2 separate regions of the Homo sapiens genome follow, and region 1 is linked to region 2. Evidence: promoter capture Hi-C in 16 types of primary human blood cells and fetal thymus (Javierre and others, 2016). All regions are on one chromosome and are shown on one strand. Each heading gives the region's core, a stretch centred on a gene start or on the middle of the fragment in contact. The rest is flanking DNA. Distances are from core to core; before and after follow the strand shown.

Evidence for each region. Contacts are between HindIII fragments. The CHiCAGO score rates a contact against its expected background, and 5 or more counts as called.
Region 1: a fragment that was not itself captured here is called in contact with the fragment with the promoter of SRPX in region 2 in 4 of 17 cell types (M0 macrophages, M2 macrophages, M1 macrophages and 1 more); the score reaches 6.4 in M0 macrophages.

Annotation. Positions count from the first base shown.
Region 1 is chrX:37,928,619-37,933,592 of GRCh38, reverse strand. It overlaps a transcript of SYTL5 not described here. Among named protein-coding and RNA genes, the nearest start is that of H2AP, 60 kb to the left of the region's middle. The HindIII fragment of the contact is 1,673 bases long and covers 2,466-4,138 here.
Region 2 is chrX:38,217,434-38,222,387 of GRCh38, reverse strand. SRPX (sushi repeat containing protein X-linked) reads left to right here and starts at 1,517. Exons shown (of 10, transcript NM_006307.5): 1 at 1,517-1,692. The coding sequence starts at 1,596. It overlaps LOC124905176 (a long non-coding RNA gene), which reads right to left and starts at 1,480. Exons shown (of 2, transcript XR_007068212.1): 1 at 589-1,480. The HindIII fragment of the contact is 8,549 bases long and covers 1-4,954 here.

The DNA.
Region 1 (4,974 bases), core at 2,053-4,552, 290 kb after region 2:
TTGACAAATTCTCTGAAGAAAAAGCTTTACATACTGAGCAAGCTCCAAGTCAGGTAAAATAAAGACAGCTTTGAGAGTGATCTTTCAGGGAACCACAGACAGGTCAAATAATGATAATTCTCTGGAATGTTGCAGAGTGCTTCAACTCTGTTCTACCCTTTCCGGTGGCTGTCAGGATGCTGGTTTTCACTGATTGTAGGCTATTGGTTTTTTTAAGGCTACCATGGGGCTGAAGAGAGGGGGATGGGAATATGGAAAGTTAAAATGCCAGAAATTTTTGCAGTTCTTAATGAGTTTTAGCCATTGTTCTTGAATAAATGCTCCCCAGATTAGCGCAACCCTTTGGTTAATTTCCAGAGTTCTGAAAATGTTGATTCTGACCATTTTTCAGTGTTCTTATTATTTTTATGTAGGAGTGAATTTTCAGAGGTCCTTACTCTGCCATTTTCACTCAATGTGACATTGACACTGCACCATTAAAAAGTGGAGTCTATATCGCCACCTCCTTTAAATCTGTGCAGGCCTTGTGAGTGCTTTGACCAACTGAGTCAGTGGAAGTAATGCTACTCCAGTTCCACTTGTAGGCCATAACTGCCCTGGCAACTCCTACTTTCTGCCTCTTGGAAGCCAGCCATCCTGTAAGAAGGGCAACTACCCCGAGACCATCATGCTGTGAGAATCTCAAGCTACACGTAGAGGCTCTGAAGAATGATACAACATGTAGAGAGTGAGAGATCAAAGAGCACTAAGGTACTAGGCATGTGGGTAAAAAAATTCTTCTTGGAAGCTAACCTCGCAGTCCCATCTTTTCTAGCTCATACAATCTGAACCAGAAATTTGTCCTGCTGAGCCCTTCTCAAATTCTTTGCCCACAAAATTGTGAACAAAATAAAATAATTATTTTTAGCCACTAGTTTTTGAGGTGGTTGTTATGTGACAATATAGCCAAAATGGTAGATAATTAAAGCCAGAAACAGGAGATTCTGCTCTGATGAAAACCAGAGTCATTGTGACTGCCATTACTGCTATTCCAACACCCTCAGTGGGTACCTTTATCATTAAGCCTTTGAAAATTGTTTATTTGTTCTCCTTTTCAATTGATTTATAAAAGGAATGCTACCATAATTCCTCCTAAATATTCCTTTATTCTCTCTCCTCAACTCTGTCTTGACTCATCATGGGGTTTTTGGAGAGACAGAAGTCAATTTCAGTTTTGAAGACATGAAAAGGTTTACCCATCTCTTTAAAGTAAAGATGGCTCCCCCTCCATTTTACCCCAACCCCTACATTTCCTGTGTTACACCATCATCATTCTCCACAGTGACAGCAATCCCAGTAAATAATGTCTCCTCGCTCCTTCTCTGGGACTCAGCTGTTTACTGCTCCATGCCCCTCGATATGTGCATCATACAGACTTCGTGTGGACAGTATGAGGATTCCTAAGTCCTTGCACAGTTTTTTAATTCAGAAATAATCAGTATTGTTACTTTATTTTTTTAATTCTTAAAATTTACTTTTAAAAATAATATTCAATTACTAAAACAACATTTAACAAGCTAGCTTTCCTATAAGTCTTTAAGACCAGTTTGCAAATCCTATTATTCTATTTCTATACACACTAAATTTTAACAGTGACTGACTAGAAAACCTTTAATTAATATTTAGTCAACTCAAATTGAGCAGACTGAACTCCTTAAACTATTAGCCACTGACTAGAAAACCTTTAATTAATATTTAGTCAACTCAAATTGAGCAGACTGAACTCCTCAAACTATTAGCCCTGTTTATAATTCAGTTAATTAATTTACAGGATTTGAATTACATTCATAAATTTATTATATTAAAATTTCTCTTTAAGTATTTCAAAGCCATGACCTAAAACCAAAGCTTTATTCAGTCATTCAGCAAATTTTGGAGCACCTACTATATATCAAGCTCCTTTATAAGTGTTCTGGATACAGCAGCAAGCAAAACAAAATGCTTGCCTTTGTGGAGACTGTATTTTAGTGGGTAAAGTAGGTAATAAACAAGTATATGGTATCATTCCAGATACTGATAAATGCTCTATAGAAGAGAAGGTAAAGTGATATAGTCACTTTTTATTGAATGGTCAGGGAAAGCCTTTTAGAAGGGCTAACATTTCAGAAGAGTACCAAATAAGATATTTTCACAAAACTTAATGCTAGAAAATCTAAAAATTCAACTTGAGACCTAGTGAACCTGAACTTCTCTTAGGCCTTCAGTACTGTTTGCTAACTTAGTAAATTTATCTCACACTTTCCAAATATCATTCAAAAGACTAAAATCAATGACAAAATCTTACATTTGGAATTGGAATCATAATCTAAGTCTTGCATATTCTCTAACATGCCAAATTCTCTCTGATATTGCAAAACCATTAAATACCAAATGGATACAGTATTACAATTATTATGAAAACCTATCCCAAAATTTAATTCTAAGCTTATTTTTAAAACTTTAATATGAAGGTTAGAATGATTGAAATAATGACGTAAATTCTTTACCCTTCCCTGTATCCATGCCATTTGCCAATTGACTGCAGTTCCTCCTATCAAGAGACAATATATTTTCCTACCCCTTGATTCTGAGTCCAGGCACATGTCTTATTTTGGAAAATGTGATGTTAACAAACATGAGACAACTAGAGGCTTGAAAAAGTACTTGTTCTCTTTTTCCTCTATCATTGCCATGAGACCATACCTGGGCTATCCTGCTGGAGGATGAGGGACACATGGAGGAAATTTGAGTTGCATCACAGAGATTTTGTGGTTGTTACACAGCATTATAGTAGAGAGAGATAACTGATGCAAACCCTGTGTTTGTTCTTCATGTTCCATGGGTAGAAAATAAACTTAACAACTAAGACACAATGTTTTCATTTCAAGGGAGCTGAGCATTTTGTGCGAAATTAATCAGGATGAGATTCACCTGCAAAAGTAGCTGACCAAGGAAAAATGTACTTCCCCTGATGTAAAAGTCTAGAGAAAGGCAGTCAGATTGGTACGGCAGTTTCATCATGTCAAGGACCCAGGCTCCTTCTATCTTGTTGCTCTAGTATAGGTCACCTCATTGCCAATGATGACTACTCCAGTTCTAGCCATCTTATCTATACTCCAGCCACAAAGAAGGGAAAAAAGGGAAAGAATAAAGATAGGCTTTTTCTCTCTTCAGAGATAGCTTCTGGATGTTGTACATCACTTCTTATATCCCTTTGACAAAAACATATTCGTATGGTCAAACTTGGCTATAAAGAAGGCTAGGAAATATAATCTTGATTCTGAGCACACATGTGCCCAGCTAAAAATCTGGGGTTCTATTAAAATAAAAAAGTAAATTATAATATTTAAGGATAACCAGCTGTCTCAACATAGCAATCTCAATGCTTAAGCAAACTGGAATTACCAACTAGTTAAACCAGGGTTACCATCTCAGCGGACGGGTCAGGTTGTCAGGACACAGAATCTACTAGGGTAAGGCCCTAATAGGTGCCCTTACCCTTTTATACATTTGCTATGAAAACAAGAGACTCTCTATCTTTTTGAGAGGGATTGGTCTTTGTTGGTTTCAGGTTTTACCCTAAAGTTAATGGTTCCATTTGACTTAACTAGAAGTCGACCCCGAATTCCAATTAATTTTCAGCTAACTTCCTTCAGTTAACCTCTGTGCAGCCTGACTGAATTCTGAATTCTTATTATATTTTTTTCTTTTTAGAAGGATGAAAACCAAATCAGTTATAGTTTTCACGTCTCTCATTCATAACCCTAAAGTCATCTAATAACATATTTGTCAAAGTGCTTTACATAAGCAACTCTGGCATTCCAGCTTTCTGAGATCTCTCTTTTGATTTAGCAAAAGGAAATAATTTCCTCAAATGCTTCTGAGGTTTCCCAAAGGTGGCCATTTGTCTCAGATCAGGCTAGGATCACCTCTTCAATCCTCCTCAGACCACCCCTATCCATTTTGTAACTGCCCCTCCCTTTTGTTTTCCTCTGCATGGTACCTTCTTCACTTCTACTTATCTCAACAATAGTTGATGCAAAGCATAATACAGCCTTGCCCATCTTTTACCAAAGCAAAATAAACAGTAGGCTATTATTTTAAAAACTTTATTGAAGCTTTGTGGTAAACAGAGGGTAATTTAAACACTAATCTGGAAAGATTTAAAACCTGTTCTGAGTTTTCTAGAGCCCACAGGTCTTATTCATTCCCAGAGGTCTCATATTGACCCCCTTCCTCTTTAGCCACTCAGCATGCCATCCTGTTGCTGAGAAGAAAAGCCCTTATCTCCTCAGATTAGTGACCTCTGTCTTGTGCTCTCTCTCAAACTCTTGGGCCTACAACACACTCCCTTTAAGGAAGAAAAAACAGGTGAAAAGCCCATTAATAGCACAATAATCCTCCAGAGATGCAGTCTTACTCCAAAGAAAACAACATTTTACATTTTTATGCATTGTAAGATCTGGGCTTTGCCTCTGCATAACTAAGAGATGCATTAAAATATTATTTTTCTTGTGTACACAAAAGCTCAGGTATCCCAGTGATAAATTCTGTCTTCACCTTGGGAGTTACAAGCACAAACTCCAAGGTAGCTTTTTAAAAATAGCAACTTTTAGTCCTGCTTTAAATATTCTAAAGCACATATGACTAATTAGGCAGACTGATAATAATTTACCATGTTAGCTTACCACTTAAATTCCACCTTCCGGATAAGAAATAAGATGGCTTACCAAAAAGTCACTACCACTGGACTAAGATAAAGAAAAAATAAAATTTAATGAGAAATGGAAAAATAATTGTGCCAGTAATCAGGGATGAGTTATTATAATAAGGACTAAATTTGATTTTGGACTTCTTAGAAGACAAAATCAAAAGGCACGAGGGTTTGTCCAGTTGATTAACCTGATGTCTTATACAATCCTATGATGTGGTGAATGGTTGTTTTAGATTCTCTTG
Region 2 (4,954 bases), core at 268-2,767:
ACAAGGTTGAGAATGACTCCCTGGAAAGTCTGGTCTGATGGAGGCCACAGAATAGACTGACCTCCCCCATTTCCTTGCGACTAGGGGGTTATTTAAGGGTTGTTGGTTCCCTGAAGAGGTAGCAGCAGTGGAGAAACCCACAGGAGATGGAGCGAAGTCCCCCCAAGTGCTAGAGAGGGTAAGATGGACGTTCAAGTCTGGGGCTTTTGTGAGAATTGGGAAATGGCACTCCTTCTGGATAAACAAATTCAGAACTTCTAGGTGAGTGCCCCCAGGGCTCTTAGCCTAGCTATCAGACCAGACTACTGTGGCAGAGAGAAAGATGCCCTTCTAGTGGATGTGGCCCCTGCCAAGACGCAAAGCTCCCTGAACCCAAAGGCATTTGGATTTTGGCTCCCACTTGCCCCTTCCTCTGGATGCCTTTGTACAGTGCCCAAACTGCACAACCTAATGCAGCAACTCCAACTAAAATTTGCCTTAGCTAAGATCTTTCTGAGACAGCAAAGGGGCAACGTATTGCCTTACTGATTTAACAAGAACTAAACAACCAAAACAACAAACAAACAAACAAAACTATGAGAGGCTTACTCAAATGCCTCAAAGAAACCAGATCCGTCCTGCGGGCAGCCTAGAAACCCTGTCCTGATGCCAGGATCCAGCGATGCCAAGCCACAGGGAAGAGGCTCCAGTCTGGTCGTGGTATCTTTGGGGTGGTTGAGAACAACCCAGGAAATGAGGAAATCTGGCTGCAGGAACCTACAGCTGGATCCCCATGGCTGTGGGTGAGACAGAGAACTTTCTGTGCCTTGTGCTCTCCCATCAGCTGATCCTGGAAGGAGAACCTCAAGCCCCATCCTAAACCGCAGCAGAGCAGGCACGCACCCGGTCCAGTCCTTGATTTATTCCTTTGCAAAAGAGAAACAAACTAACAAAAAATCTGTAGTATGGACTTTGACGTCGGCAGAACTACACACCTAAGTTCCAGTCCCTGCTCTGCCAGTAACGGGGGTGAATCTGGGCAAGTTTCTAAGCGTCGGTGTCTTATTGGAGAAAGTGGACATGGTAATAGCGAACTTGGGGCATGGTCGTGAGGATCAAAACAGAGAACATGGCCATAGTATCCGGCCGCAGTGGGCCACTCTGAATCCCCTCGGTTGCCCCTTCTGTTTCCGTGTGACTCACGCAGCTTTCTGCACAGATGGTATCCTTCTAGACGTCTGGGATGTTCGAGGCGGTTGTATTGAATACCGTGTGTGTATTCCGGGTGAGGGGGCGCGCAAATTGGGGCAAAGAAAGCTACTTCAGGATATTTCGCTCTGCTGGGGCTTGTCTCCAGCGCTCTCTGGCCAGAAAAAGCGCTGGCACAAAAGGAGGAGGTGGGTGGGTCAGAGCCCCGAACCGCGCAGTGTTCCAGGGGGGGCGGAGAAAGGAGGGCAGGCCCCAGGCAGGAAGGAGGGAGGGAAAGAGGCGAGAGGAGGAGTTTTCCAGCCCGGCCTTCGCCCGCCCGCTAGCACGCAGTCCCTTGGTCTCTTCGGTCTCCTGCCGCCCCCGGGAAGCGCGCTGCGCTGCCGAGGCGAGCTAAGCGCCCGCTCGCCATGGGGAGCCCCGCACATCGGCCCGCGCTGCTGCTGCTGCTGCCGCCTCTGCTGCTGCTGCTGCTGCTGCGCGTCCCGCCCAGCCGCAGCTTCCCAGGTAGGATCGGAGGCGTGGCTGCCTCCTCAGCTGGGCACCAAAGACCCCCGGAGTCGCCGTTGGGACCCTTCGCTCGGGATAGAGGGAGGTGCCGGGGGCGCCCTTTGTTTGCGCAGAACTCCTCTTTCGCAGCCCGAGGGTGGGGATGATGCGGATCGGGGCTGGTGTCTGGGCACGCGCCGGGAAGAACTGACCATCCCATCTCCAGGCGCGGGGCGCCCTCGCGGCGACGGGAGCCCTAGCACCTTCTGCGTCCGGGCTTCCAGAGTTCCAATCAAACCCTTTTCGGTGTAGGAGGCTCCACAGAGAAAGTTTGGCCGCAGACTAGTTTGCTACTTTCTCACCCCCAGAATTTTGCCTCTCACATGGTTGCCCACTGGAGGCTGGCAGCTTGTCCTGGAAGGAGCCTCTATGCCCTCCCACTACACGTCCCAGGCTACCCCCTTGGGGCCGCAGGACACGAGCCACGGTAAAGCGACTTTTGTGGAAGGCACGGGCGGGGCCTCCCCTGAATCTCTTAACCCCCCCTGCTGGGGATTCCGAGAAAGTCTGCGCCTCTGAGGAAGAATTGCCAGCTGAGAGTGGTGACATGTGGCATGCACTTGATTAGCCCCAGGGAAAGAGGGCTACTCGCGCAAGGATCTGCTGGGCAGAGGGTGCGGCTTATTCCTGGAGGGCGTGGTCTCCGGCATCTAAGGGGGCCCTGGTGTTTCTTGGGGGCTCTCATGGTGTGAGCAAAATTCTCTTTGGAGATGCACTTTAAAAAGCTCCAGCTAACTTCCTCACCCTGGAGTCTTAGGTTAGCGAAGAGCTTCAGGGGAGTAGGGCAATGTGCCATGCACTCCTGTTGCCTCGGAATGGAGAGGAAATCCATGGATGCGTTTTAATTTAGTGTTAATGGGAAAGTGGGTGACGTCGGCTATAGGGCGTGCAAATATTTGGCTCTGCGTTCAACACCGTGGGCAGCTTAAATCTAGGGTATGAGAAATGAACCTACTGAGTTCTGGTAGAAGGATAGAGGATGCCCATCTTTCTAGCAGTGTGCTTGGGAGATGTAGGGATGGCTGCGGGAAATTCTCTGCACGCACCTAAATAAATGAATGAATAGAACAAATTTGTAAATTAATAAACAGGAACATTTGTGTTTTGAGCTGACTCTTAAGTTTTAAGCTGCTTTGTAGGAACTGATTCAGGGTAAAGTGGAAAGGAAATTTTATCCTTACTGCCAGGCAACTGTTATTCCCATGGTGTGTTAATACCTCCTCTCCCACCCCCTTTAGCAGGAATCAGGTTAAAATGAACCTGTAGGGGAAGAGGAAGTCATTAAGCGTCCCAGAAGCAGCTTTCTGGGAGCGGGCAAATAAGGTGAGAAGCTAGAGGTAGCTTTTCCGCACTGAGTTGGGAGGTGCCTGTGAGCTGCCTGGGAACCTCAACTTTTAGTTGAGCCTTTCTCAAGCTGGGGACCCCTTCTCCTTTTCCATCCGACCTCCCTCCGTTCTCCTCCCCTGCCCTCCCCTCTCCTTTCTCTCATCTTCCACCTTTATATAGTACAGCTTGCTACCAGGGCCCAGCCACAGAATCATGAGTTCGCCAGTTTGGGCATTCACTACCACCTGTCTTTTGGGACCTATCCCTGGCTTTCCTGGCTCCCTCTGCCAGCCTGCAAGCTGCTCCCAACTTTTAGCCACCATGTTCCTGCTTGCCACCACCTCCACTGACTCCTAACCTGCCCTCCGGCTCTGCTCAGACCACAAATGAGCTGAAGCTGATTGGAGCTGCTTGATAAACACTCCTCTTGAGCCTCCTTTTGGCATGGCTCAATGGGGTCTCTTGGGAAGTGTGCTCCGCTGAGGTTGTGAGATCCAGAGGAGGGGATTTCAGTCCAAGCCAGAGGCTTTGGAAGGCTGGGGAGGGGAAAATCTCTAGGCCCTTGGGTCTGAAAGCAAATCACATAGGCTGAGTTCACTCTAAGTGCTGGGTGACAAATTTTAAAGATCATTTCAGAGACACTCTCTTAGCAAGTGGACATCATATCTTCAGTAAGAGAGAAAGTGAAGGACTTGAATCTGGAACTTCTGAAAGAAGATGGAGATCTAGGGCTCCATCAGCAAGTCGATTATGTAACTATCTGCACGTGAATAGCACATCTGTCAGAGTGAGAGTAAATCATTCTCATTCCCACTCCTAGAAGGTCTCTGGAGTTCTTCCATCTTAGAATTTAATGCAGCTTTTCTGGCTCTCTGATCTATTTTTTGCAGCCTAGCAAAGATGCAGTGTCTATAAAAACCTACATGAAGTGTATGGAAAATTTGTAGAAAAGTTGTTTGTGTTTGACTGTGTTTGTATGCTTATAACAGATGAGAATTTAGATTCTGTTCTTAAAATAATTCTTAGAGCTGTATTTGCATGTGAGATAGTGGTGGTTCACTCTGCCTCCTTCTGCAAACAAGGCTGAAGATGGAGAATGAGTACCATGGCCTCTAAGAAAGGCTTCGTGAATCTTACATCTGGAGAAAACTGGTAAAGTAGCGTGGTTTTACTAGTCAGGAAAACCAAGTGAGGTTTGCTAAAAGCCAAACCAGACTACATCAGCTGAAGCAGTCTTTTGAAATACCACATTTGGAGATAAGTACTAGGAATGGAGCACCTAGCTCAGGTTATATAATTAAGGTGTCACCGGGAACAGGCTAGGAATTCCTATTTAGATTTAAAACATGTAATCAGCTGACAAAAGTACTCTGCAATGAAAAGGAAATATGCTGGGGAGAGCAGGTCATTTTCCTCTGGCATTTTCTTCATTGATAACACTTTCAGTACAGTACAATGTTGTTTGTTAGTTACTACTCATTTCGCAGATTTGGGAGCTGAATGAGACACCAGAAACCATTGTTAAAGCAGCGTCTTCACATCTTCCCACCTCATCAGTCCTCGTACCATAACCAAAGTGCTGCTTTTCTCTTTTAGATTATTGCTATAACATTCTCACTTTTGGTCTCTCTAATTCTAGCTCATTTTACTTTCTCACTTTAGATAATGGTCTTTTAAGTCCATTGACTTTAGTACTGTTTTTTATCACATCACTCCCTTACTCAAAAACTTAGGGCAGCAGGTCCCTGTTCTCACTCAAGTAAAAAGTTCTCAGTTGTTTTTAGGGGGCTACACAGTTTGCTTCTAGCCTAATTTTCCAGTCTTTTCCCCCTGGTTTCCTAAAATCCTATCCTTATAGAACCTGAGTCACATTTTCCTTCTTGGCAGATGCTGC